3 separate regions of the Homo sapiens genome follow, and regions 1 and 3 are each linked to region 2. The links are contacts of gene promoters, found by promoter capture Hi-C in blood cells and fetal thymus (Javierre and others, 2016). All regions are on one chromosome and are shown on one strand. Each heading gives the region's core, a stretch centred on a gene start or on the middle of the fragment in contact. The rest is flanking DNA. Distances are from core to core; before and after follow the strand shown.

Region 1 (3,927 bases), core at 1,035-3,534, 260 kb before region 2:
TCATGGCATTTATCACTAGTTGAATTTTTTTTACAAGTTTATTGGCTGCTTCCCCCAAACTAGAATGTAAGATTCTTAAAAGCAGGGACCTTGTTAATTTGTTCACTGCTGTGTCTTTAAGACTTGAATAGCATCTGAAACAAAGGACTCAAAAAATATTCATTAAGTGAAAGAATGAGTAGATGGGAATGTCTCTTGCCTTGAGGATGAAGGAAGGCATTAAGACCCAGTGATTTCTGTTTCTACTAGCCAGAATAAAGTGTCTAGATGCCAGTGTTTGAACCAAGAAGCCCTCTCTCTTTTTACAATTTATTTTTTGTTTGTTTGTTTTTGTTTTTGTTTTTTGAGACGGAGTCTCGCTCTTGTTGCCCAGGCTGGAGTGCAGTGGCCCGGTCTCGGTTCACTGCAACCTCCACCTCCCGGGTTCAAGCAATTCTCCTGCCTCAGCCTCCCAAGTAGCTGAGATTACAGGCGCATGGTATCATGCCCAGCTAATTTTTGTATTTTTAGTAGAGACGGGCTTTCACCACATTGGCCAGGCTGGTCTCAAACTCCTGACCTCAGGTGATCCACCTGCCTCAGCCTCCCAAAGTGCTGGGATTACAAGTGTGAGCCACCTCGCCTGGTCCCTCTCTCTTTTTTGGTACCTCAAATTGTCAGAAAATGGCCATCTTTGTACCCTCTGGATAGGCCAAAGAAGAGATGGTTAGGCAAGAGGAAGGGTGGATTCATGCAGTGTAGCTCATTTCATAAAAACAAACAATTTGTTATAAAGTGAGGTATTCTAATTGAGCAGGGGATGATTGAGTCTTTATTTCTCTGAGTTTGAAACAAACCCCAAAACATTCTCTTTAGAGCAAAAGCAGGCCATGTCATAGGCTAGAGCTGGAAATACCTTCTGTCCCTCAAGCTTCGCTTTTATTGCCCCAAGGGCAAGTATCATGAGATTAAATGCAGCTCTGCTGGGAAGGCCCTGACTGTGACCTGTGTTAGGGAAGCTCTGAGAGCTATTTGGAAAAAACTTCATGATCAGTGAAGATGCCCCCTTCCACCCCACACTGTCCCTCTGATCCCCAAAACAAGGATACCATAGCCTCCTCCCAGAGAGAAGATTCAGTTAATGTGTTTCTGATGCCTCAAGTTGGTGCAAACCAGAATAAACACGGATGGCAAAAATCAGCCTATGAGCTCATTCAGGCTTTGATCAGAGACATAATTTCATTATGAAATTTTGAATCAGGCTGTTGTGAAGTCTTGCCAAGGAGTTTCATTTTCCCAGATGATATGGTGGGTTGTTTCTCTCCTGTTCTCATACTCTGCTTGCATTTATCTTACAAACTTTCCATCTATTTTTATAATCTGACCCATCAATCCTTTTACAACAATATTTGCCGATCTCGACAACCAACTTCAATTCTACCAGCAGATAAAAAGCCTGATCAAGGTAAGTCAAGCTTAAGTTACTGGTTTGATTTGCCTGCCCTGCTTGCCGCATTGTAATGCAGTGACTATTTTTCACTCTCTTTTCTGATGTCATGCCAACTAGCAGAGGCAAGATACACCTCCAGGTCTACAGTTCCTCAGCTTTAAAACAGATGCAATAGCTTAACTACTCTGAAAGACTGCAATAAGATCATATGAGTTACAGTATATGAAAGCATCGCAGACATGGTACACATCATGCAGATGGGATGCTTTCTATTTTTCTTCTTTTTTTTTTTTTTTTTTTTGAGATGGAGTCTTGCCCTTTCACCAGGCTGGAGTGCAGTGGCATGATCTCAGCTCACTGCAAACTCTGCCTCCTAGATTCAAGCTATTCTCATGCCTCAGCCTCCCAAGTAGCTGGGATTACAGGCACGCACCACCATGCCCAGCTAATTTTTGTGTTTTTAGTAGAGACGGGGTTTCGCCATGTTGGCCAGGCTGGTCTCAATTTCCTGACCTCGAGATCTTCCCGCCTCGGTCTCCCAAAGTGCTGGGATTACAGGCATGAGCCACTGCACCGGCCAGGGATGCTTTCTATTTTTCTCAAAATCCAAGGTGAGCTACTCATCCCCTCAAATGTTGCTCCTGGTAACCACAGGTTTGTGTGAATGAGAAGACCTTAATGGATGGAGACTGGCTGGAAATGCCATGTTCTGGACTGGTGTCTTCACAGGAAGCAGACAATCCTGACCTTACTTTTTTTTTTTTTTTTTTTTTTTTCAGATAGAGTCTTGCTCTGTCACCCAGGCTGGAGTGCAATGGCACGATCTCAGCTCACTGCAACCTCTGCCTCATCAGTTCAAGCAATTCTCCTGCCTCAGCCTCCCGAGTAGCTGGGATTGCAGGCACCCACCAGGACACCCAGCTAATTGTTGTATTTTCAGTAGAGATGGGGTTTCGCCATGTTGGCCAGGCTGGTCTTGAACTCATGACCTCAGGTGATCCACTTGCCTCAGTCTCCCAAAGTGCTGGGATTATAGGCATGAGCCAGTGTGCCGGGCCCTGACCTCACTTTTATCTTCATTCTGTAAAAAGTTTATCACTGGGGTCTAATGGGCAAATAGCAGCAGCTTCTAAAGCAACATTTTTTAAAGTGTGGTCTGAGAACCACAAGCATCAGAATCACTTGGGGGATCTGTTTTAAAATGCTGGGCATGGTGGCTCATGCCTGGAATCCCAGCACTTTGGGAAGCAGAGGCAGGTGGATCGCTTGAGCGCAGGAGTTCGAGATCAGCCTGGGTGACATGGTAAAACTTTGTTTCTACAAAACATACAAAAATTAGCCAGGCGTGGTGGCTCAAACCTGTAGTCCCAGGTACTTGGGAGGCTGAAGCTGGAGAATCTCTTGAGCCTGGGAAGTGGAGCCTGCAGTGAGATCGTGCCACTGCACTCCAGCCTGGGTGACAGAGTGAGATCCTGTCTCAAAAATAAAATAAAATAAAACAAAAATGCAGATTTCTGGGTTTTATCCCAGAGCTTCCAAAATCAGACCATCTTGGGGGTGGGGCCAAGAGAATCTACATTTTAGCAAGCTCCTCAAGTGATTCTTGTATATACAAAAGTGAAGTCTTTTCCAAGAGTCACTCGGAGGCTTTCTGACCTGCTGACCAGAAGGCAGCCCTGGAAGATCAAGCTTCTTTCCTACCTATCTTAAATCATCTTGTTCTTCTTAGCAGAGCCAGGGTGAGGAAGGCTGCTGCAGTGTCTAATGCACTCTGAAAATATATATCTTGGCTCTGCCCCAAATGCCTTGATATTTATGCTGCAGCCGGAGGGTCGTTATCCTTTGGCAATGCTCATTTGTAAGGCCATTAGCTCTTAATTAGTGCCGGCTTGTTGAGTTGTACTTCCCAGTTGAACTGCTAGCAGAAGCTGCTCTTTTGGGGCCTCTTGTGTCTCTCCTCTGGCAAGCCCATGAAGCATTGACCCGTGCCTGCTGAGGCCAAGAGTTGGGCCCCTGGAATGGCCGCTGCCCAATGTGAAACAGTCCTAGTCCCCAAATGCTAGGTTCTGGGACTCTGGAAGAACAGAGAAAGGCTCAGAATATACATCTTCAGGATTTTGTTGTTTTGTTTCACTGATAGAAAACAAAAAAGTGAGTCCTTGGTTATACAACCTCAACAGTTTTACAAGCAAATTCAAGTATCAGAAAAGTAAAGTTCGGCCGGGCGTGGTGGCTCATGCCTGTAATCTCAGCACTTTGGGAGGCCAAGGCAGGCAGATCATCTGAGGTCAGGAGTTCAAGATCGGCCTGGCCAACATGGTGAAACCCCATCTCTACTAAAAATACAAAAATTAACCGGGCGTGGTGGCACACGCCTGTAAACCCAGCTACTAGGGAGGCTGAGGCACAAGAATTGCTTGAGCTTGAGAGGCAGAGGTTGCAGTGAGTCAAGATTTACACCAGTGCACTCCAGCCTGGGCGACACAGTGAGACCCTGC
Region 2 (3,691 bases), core at 1,176-3,675:
ACTCCCCAGCTAAAATTTGCACCAAGAATTTTGTAAGGACTTGCCCCAAAACCAAACTAGGCCCTCACTGACTGCTTTACTTACTTCTTTACGTTTTGTTTCCGGACATTCCGACTGCAGAGTGAGGGTTGCACCTTCAATATTTCTTGGCATGGGTGTGGAACCAGGGTTTATTGTCAAATGAATCTGATCTGGTGAGATAATGTGCTGCACATAACCCTGGGACATTGCTTCATGATCTATCAGGTGAAAGCCCTCTTCACCCCCTACTAGAAAAGGCAAGTGTTCTCCGCACTGTCCGTCGTCATCTTCATCCTCCAAAGTGCCAGGGTCCTGCTCAATAAGAACAGTGGTCCTATCATAAACAGTTCCAGATGAGGAAGGCACCAGTCCGTTTTTATCCACAAACCTGAGCATTTTATCATCGGGGGTCAGCTCATCTTCCTCTGCCTCAAAGTAGATGATGTTGTTGTCTGGACTGTGTTCCCCCATGGTTCAGTTGTGCTCAGCCCAGTTGTGAGAAATGAAAACGTAATGACTTGTCTGCAACAGAACAAAGCCAGAGTTAGAGTCATACCACAAGACCGACGGACCTCCTCAGCAACCACAAGGCTCATTTTCCCTCTCACTTAAAGAGCAAGCCAAAGCAAATGAAAAACCATCCTTGGGAATAATTTTTTTATTTTAACTTTAAAACCATCAAGTCATTTTTAAAGAAAAGCAATGCCGACTGGGCGTGGTGGCTCACACCTGTAATCCCAACACTTTGGGAGGCTAAGATGGGAGGATCGCTTGAGGCCAGGAGTTTGAGATCAGCCTGGTCAACATAGTGAGACCCCCATCTCTAATAAAAAAAAAAAAAAAAGAAAAAGAAAGAAAAGCAATGCTTTTCAAAAACTGAATAAGTTCATAAGACCTTCTGAATACGCCTGTCAAACAATTTGAAACTTGGTCAAAATATTTAAAGGGGACAAAAGAGCAAACAGAACAGCAGCTGCTGAAAGGCTGAGTTGCTACAAATCTTAAGGGAAACTCCATCCATTCAAATATCCTCCAAATCAGACCACGAGGCAGTAAATGGTTTCATGCAGTTTATGGTAGAAGGAGCAAGGCTTTGGAGGCAGAGTCATCTACCTACAAATCCTGTCTTTGCCTTTTACTACATGGGTAACTTTTCTGTGCCTCATTTTTCTTACGTGCAAGGTGGGACCAGTAATTCCTGTTCTCTCAAAGTTTTTATAAGAAATAAAAGAGGCAACATATGTAAAGCACAATGTTTGGTAAATAGTAGAGGAACAAGTATGAATTCCTTCCCCCCTACCTAGAACAGATGTTTCAACCTTCTGGGTGGAAGGGCTATTCCTCAATCAGGCACAAACAACGAAGATCACTGTATCTATTTATGTCCTAAAACAATATGGTGTCAACAAGAAGTTATGGTTCTGTGGTGGGCTCTCGTCCCTGAATCAATTGAGTCTTATTATTTTTGTTTCTACAGCTCCTAGCATAGTACACTGATACTATGATAAGAGTTCAGGAAATGTCAGCTAAATGACTGAAAGACATGGCTACCTACTCTCTCGTGAAGATATACTATCTTGGGAAGATACATTCTCTTGAGAAAAATACCACATTTGAAGCTTTCATGTTCTGGAATAGTGATTCTTCCTTCATCTGCAAACACAGGCTCTACAAATGTGGGTTTGGCAGGCAGAATAGAGAATTTTAAAATAATCAGCACATCCCTTTTAGTTTTCAGTCTGGCTTTGCGCTTTATCTTTCTCTTCTGCTCTGGGTTAGAAAGTGAGCCTTTACTTAGTGGGATGGCTAGACAGTTACCAGAGACAGGCCAAAGGATTGGATCCGGGAGGTACCGGCCCGACCCCTAGCTCTGGCTTACGCAACCCCACAGATGTACATTTCGCTGCATCTGAGCAGAGAGAGAAGAGCACCGAGGGCCCCAGTGGGCTGCCCCGGCACCCTCGGCGGCAACGCGGAGACCAACTGTCCGAAACAAACAAGACCAGGAGGTTTGAGGGTAGCCAACGAGGAGTGCGAACAGAGCCCCCTTGAGAGGAGGCTGGGAAAAGGAACCTGTCTGGGATAGCCCCCAGCACAGGGCTACACAGAAAAATCCGAAGACAAGCTGGGGGTCTCCAAGCAAGGAGGAGAGGGGCAGGGTCCGGGTCTCCATGGAAACAGGGAAGGGGGGCTGGATACCCATCCCCATGGAAACGGAGAAGGGGTGGGGTCCCTATGGTGACCAAACTGAGGTCTCTATTGGGAAATGCTTCAGGAGGGAGCCTAAGTCCCGCGCCTCCCGGTAAGTCCCAAGCCCAGGCCGAGTCTAGTTTCGCCTTTTACCTCCGCGGCTCCCGGCAACGGCGGCAGCAGCAGCTTCTCCCCTCCCCAGCGGCACCATGATTGCCCCCACCTTCCCCTAACGTCACTTCCGCTTCCTCTTTCCGGAGGAAGGTGGGGACAGAGGATCCGCCCCTCCCTGGCGCCTCTGGTTGGCTCAGGTTGTCAGGGGGCTGAGCTGCAGCCTCCAATTGGCGAGCGGGGCACCGAGGGGAAGGCGCCCAGGAGGTGGGTTCATCCGCGTGGGGAAGCGCCCGGGGTGGCCACGCGGGGCCCGGAGGGTGTCGCCCTCGCGGCACCGGAGTCAAGGAGAAGGGAACGAATCCCCAAGGAAGAATCCGAAATGTCCTCAGCCAGGTTTGCGCTGACCGCCCTCGCCCTGGCAGCCACAGCCGCAGCGGGAAGGACCACAGTTGGCAGTCAGAACCCTGGCTCCAACCCGCCAGGGGAGCCTGGACGGCCGCGACGTTCCCGGGTTTCTCCTGCCGGGACCCCGGCCTTCCCTTCAGCACCCATCAAAGTTAACACAGGCAGGAGGCCCAGAAAGGAAGACAAGACCCCAAAGGCAGAACTAAGAGTATTCTAAGCCCAGCTGGAGAGGACGCCGCCGCCTCTTCCCCTTCTCACGCGCTTGCCTAGGACCCCCAGCTCCCTTCTCACGCGCTTGCCCAGGCTGGCGGTCCCAACTTTCTTCCCCTGCAAGAGGACGCGGCTACGGCGGGACTCATGCCCGGGCCAGTTAGCGCCACCTACCGGCCACTCCCTTCCTTTCACCGTTCACATTGTCCTGCTGGCCCGCGTCTTAAACCCATTTCACAGTGCCCAGAAGTAGTGGGCATTCGTACCCAGGAAGCGATTCTGCCTTCGTTATGCCCCTGTCCTTTCCAAATGCCTGGAGGATCTAGCTGTTAGATCCTCCCAGCTGCCACTGCCTGTTTTAACCATAAGCTGCTTCTCTCGAATATTCAGAGTGGGACAACTCCAAAGACCAGACCAGGGGTCAAGGGGTTCAGGTCAGTGCCATAACCATTTCTTGCTGGAAGTATGTGAATAGTGACTGGTACCCACCAGACTGCCAGGAATATGTCTCTTTGGCCCCAAGGCTTGAGCCACAAAATCCAGCTGCAGCGAACTGCCATCTCTTAAGACATAAAAACATACACAACCGCCACTGTTAAAAATACATTTATCATTAAAATATATTACACATGGAGACAGGATGCATCATATACAGTTTGGAAGACTTGCTGGCCCAGAAAATCCCACTTGTTTCACCGAACACTCATTTTTTCAGTGATTTTACATTTTATTTTTAGAGACGGGGTCTCCC
Region 3 (4,097 bases), core at 1,469-3,968, 340 kb before region 2:
CTGCATCTAACTTTCAAACCGTTAAGTGGGAAAAAAAGGTAGGGGGACTGGGAGATATAACTACAAAGGAGTGGCATGAGGAAGATCTTTGTGGTAATGGAATAGTTCAGTAACTTCATTGTGGTTACATGAATCTACACACAAGATAAAGTGACACAGAACTATATATATACATTGTACCAATGTCAATTTTCTGGCTTTGATACTGTATTATAGCTACATAAAACACAACCATTGGGGAAAACCAGATGAAGGGTACAAGAGACCATTCTGCCAACTCCCTATGAATCTATAATTATTTCACAATTTAAAAATGTGAAATGTAAATATAGATGTGTGCTTATATTAATATATATTATAGAAAGTAAGAGAAAGCAAATGTCACAACACATTAACAATTTGTGAATATAGGTAGGAGGGTATCAAGTGTTCATATACTATTCTTCCCATTTTCCTATAATTTGAAGATTTTCTAAAAGTTTAGAAATTTTTTAAAAATAATATTACTAAGTAAGCAGTGGTACAGCTGGCACACAGGTATGGCAAAAATTGTGAGGGTCAGTTGGGCGTGGTGGCTCACCCCTTTAATTCCAACACTTTGAGAAGCTGAGGCAGGAGGACTGCTTGAAACCAGGAGTTCCAGGCCTGCCTGAGCAACAAAGTGAGATCCCACTTCTACAAAAAAAAGTTTTTAATTAGTCAGGTACAGTATGGTGTGCCTGTAGTCCCAGCTAATTGGGAGGCTGAGGTGGGAGGATCACTTCAGCCCAGGAGTCTGAGGCTGCAGTGAGCTAAGTTCGTGCTACTGCACTCCAGCCTGGACAACAGCGTGAGACCCTGTCTCTTAGAAAAAAGAAAAGTGGCCAGGCGTGGTGGCTCACACCTGTAATCCCAACACTTTGGGAGGCCAAGGCAGCAGATCACCTGAGGTCAGGAGTTCGAGACCAGCCAGGCCAACATGGAGAAACCTCGTCTCTACTAAAAATAAAAAAATTAGCCAGGCATGGTGGCACGCACCTGTAATCCCAGCTACTCAGGAGGAAAAAGAAAAAAAGAAAAGAAAAATACTGTGAGGGTAGAACTCATGACTGATTAAAATGTGTAAAAAATTTAATAGAATGCTATTGTATAAAGATACTGTATTTAAGCCTCACACAACCCTGTGCCATAGGCCCAACTTTCGCTATTTTACAGATGTGAGCCTTGTCTAAGATTATTCGGTGAGGCAGTGCCTGAGCCAGAGTCCAAGAGTTCAAGTCCAGATCACACCACTACTTTACTACTGCCTCCAGCAAAGTTGCCACTAAGAGCATACAGTCCTAAAAACAAACGTTACTAGGGCACAATAGGAACACTACAGGCTTTCGACACTCACTTTTGGTTGGTCAGATACCGATCCCAGCCACGAATAATATTGCCATACATCTGAGTGTCTTCCAGGTAGCTTCCCTCAAAAGCATAGATCTGTCGCTCCAAATTTGCCAATGTTTCCTGAGAGATGAAAAACAAGGACATGAATGATACCTTTTAAATGCAAACACTTAAGTCTGGCCAAAATGAAATCCTGATATTAGACTCGTAAACGCAAGCTTGCCCACACTAAACCACCCTGTGGAGAGATGGAAGATACGGGGAGGAGGAGCCGTTTAGGACTAAGACAGTCTAGACCTTTGGGGGTGATGGACCCCTGAATGTATAAAGCATGTCTCCAGAAAAATACACACACACGCGAAATTTTGCATATACTTTAGAGGATTCACGGAAACCATGAGTCAAGAGCCCAGGCTAACGCAGAACTTGGGCGATGTCCACTCCCACGCACAAAAGGTATCGCTACCAGGAGAGGGAAAGGTGAGCAGCCTTTCAGCGTCAACTCGCTCCCCTCCCCGCAGGCTCAAGAGAGGCCGCCGACACCGGGCTGCCAGTTGCTATGGAAACCTAGAAGGGCAGCTTCAGGTGAGAGGGGCCTCCCGGGTGCCCAAGCCGAGACGCGGGGGCAGGAAGAGCTTAGCCACCAGAGTGCATTGGGCCTTGGGTGCCTGTCACAATTCTGAATTCTCCGGAATGTGTTCTTCTCCCTCGCCTGTCACCTTCTAGATGTTCCCAAACACATCACAACCCTGTCTATCAAAAACCTCCATTCAACGGATCTACTCCCAGTACCAAAAAGAACACGCTCCCCACCAGCCTCCAAAGTCCAGACGGGGTGACTGGGTCCCCCTCCCACACTAGCCTCCTTCCCCACCCCCTCCCCGCAAAGATCACGGACTAGCCCGCCTCGCCCACCCCCGCGGCTCACTGACGCTCGCCCTTCCTAGCGCCCTCTCCCCGGGCCCCGGCACCGTCCTCCCTCCACGCCCCCTCCTGCGGCTGCCGCTTCCCCTCCCCCTCCCGCGCTCCCGGCTCTCTCCCGGCTCCGGATTCGCACAGCCGGGAAGCTGAACCGCCGGCGGGCCGCAGAATGCGCACCCGGCCTCAGGCCGCCGAGCACCCGGCCCGCCGCGCCGCGCCCCCGGAGTAACAAACGGCCTAGCGCGGCCGGGCTTGGGGCCTGGAGGCGGGGCGGGCGCGGAGCCCCATGCCGTGCAACCCCTGTCCTAGCCCCTCACCGCCAGCTCCTGCTTCCGCTTCACGAGCTCCGCCAGCTCCCGCCGGGTGTCCGGGATCTGCGGCGGCGCCGCCTTGTTGTGCATCGCCATGTTGGGCTGAGGCGGGCGGCGGCGGCGCGAGGTTGGGGGCGGTCCCTGCGCCGCCAGGGGGCGCCCCCCCGCTCTGCGCCTGCGCGCGCGGCTTCCGGAGACGCGTGCAGCGCCGTGCCGAGCTTCGCTAAGGCCGGGGCTCTCGAAGGTCCTTCTCGGAGAGCTCTAGAGATGCGGCTTCTGCTTTCTGCCGTTTCCTGCCCCTCGGCTGGCCGCCGGCTTTACAGACGCCACAAATCCACCGCGTCCAAAGCCTAGCTCGTCCTCAGGCCTCCGAGTCTCCTGTGCGCCCCGCTTCAGTCCACTTCAGTGAATGACTTTCACTATCCACCGAATTGCCTGCGTCAGAAACGCGGTTTTCCTCACTCTGCACCTGGAGTAAAACGCGATCCCAGGTCAAGCTCTATGGACTCGACTCCGGAAGAGCTCGCGAATCCATTTGCTTGTGCCTGCGCCTTCTGCCACCTCACTAGTTCATTCAGGCCCTCCCTGTTTGGGGCTACATTATTCCAGCGGCTTATTTCCACCTTTAGCCCCACTTAATCCACTATCCACAGTGGTGCCAGGATCTTCCAGAAACAAATGTTATCACTCCCCGGTTTAAAGTCTTTCAGTGGCTTCCCATTTTCCCAGTGCCCTTTGGAGAAACAAGTATGTGTAGTGGTTAAGGGCACAAAACTGGAGCGAGAACTACCTTGTTCAAAATCCTATCGCTACATCGATAAAGTGTGCTCCTTTGGGCAAATAACCAAATCTCAACTCCCTCATCTGTAAAATACAAGCAGTAATAGAATCTACCTAATACATTTGCTGTGAGGAGTAAATCACCTAATATGTGTAAGGGGTTTGGCAGGCGCCAATGACTGTGCAAGTACGAGTTCGCTTTTATCGTTAAGTCCAAGGTGTAAACGTTGTTTTCACTTGGCCCCTGTGGATTTCTCCGTCCTCAGCTCTCCATCTTTCACTGTTCTGCAGTTTCGCTATCATAAGTCTAAGTGGGATATTTTTTCTTCCTTTTGTTTTGTTTCTTGCTTGGAAGTCTTTGGATTTCTATAATATGTGGGTTGGTATCTTCCACCAGTTTTGGGAAATCGCAGTCATTTTTCTTCAGATGCCTGTCTCATTTCTCTCTCCTTCTGGAACTCGAACATAAGAAGCTTTTTAACCTACCGTCTATATTTTCCATCTTTTTGTCCCTCTGTGCTGCATTCTGAATAACTGGTTTCGTGTGCGGATCTTGTAACCTGCCATCTTGCTGAACTCCCTTACTAATTTTAGGGGGGGTTGTATAGATTCCTTGGAATTTTTACATAGATAATAATTTCATCTGCAAATAAATAGGGAGTTTTTTTTTTTCTAAGCTGAGTGCTTTTTCTTTTTCTTCCTTATTGTGCAGAT

What was found. Contacts are between HindIII fragments. The CHiCAGO score rates a contact against its expected background, and 5 or more counts as called.
Region 1: a contact is called between a fragment that was not itself captured here and the fragment with the promoter of MTF1 in region 2, in 10 of 17 cell types (naive B cells, fetal thymus, naive CD4 T cells and 7 more). The highest score is 8.6, in naive B cells.
Region 3: the fragment with the promoter of MEAF6 here is called in contact with the fragment with the promoter of MTF1 in region 2 in 10 of 17 cell types (activated CD4 T cells, fetal thymus, total CD8 T cells and 7 more); the score reaches 10.9 in activated CD4 T cells.

The regions. Positions count from the first base shown.
Region 1 is chr1:37,596,861-37,600,787 of GRCh38, forward strand. No RefSeq gene overlaps it. Among named protein-coding and RNA genes, the nearest start is that of GNL2, 2.9 kb to the left of the region's middle. The HindIII fragment of the contact is 1,664 bases long and covers 1,453-3,116 here.
Region 2 is chr1:37,857,167-37,860,857 of GRCh38, forward strand. MTF1 (metal regulatory transcription factor 1) reads right to left here and starts at 2,426. Exons shown (of 11, transcript NM_005955.3): 1 at 2,365-2,426; 2 at 85-543. The coding sequence starts at 492. It overlaps INPP5B (inositol polyphosphate-5-phosphatase B), which reads right to left. Exons shown (of 24, transcript NM_005540.3): 24 at 3,531-3,691. RefSeq lists a silencer at 2,363-2,692. The HindIII fragment of the contact is 3,574 bases long and covers 1,639-3,691 here.
Region 3 is chr1:37,512,048-37,516,144 of GRCh38, forward strand. MEAF6 (MYST/Esa1 associated factor 6) reads right to left here and starts at 2,719. Exons shown (of 7, transcript NM_001270875.3): 1 at 2,610-2,719; 2 at 1,376-1,491. The coding sequence starts at 2,699. RefSeq lists a silencer at 2,304-2,903. The HindIII fragment of the contact is 2,267 bases long and covers 1,588-3,854 here.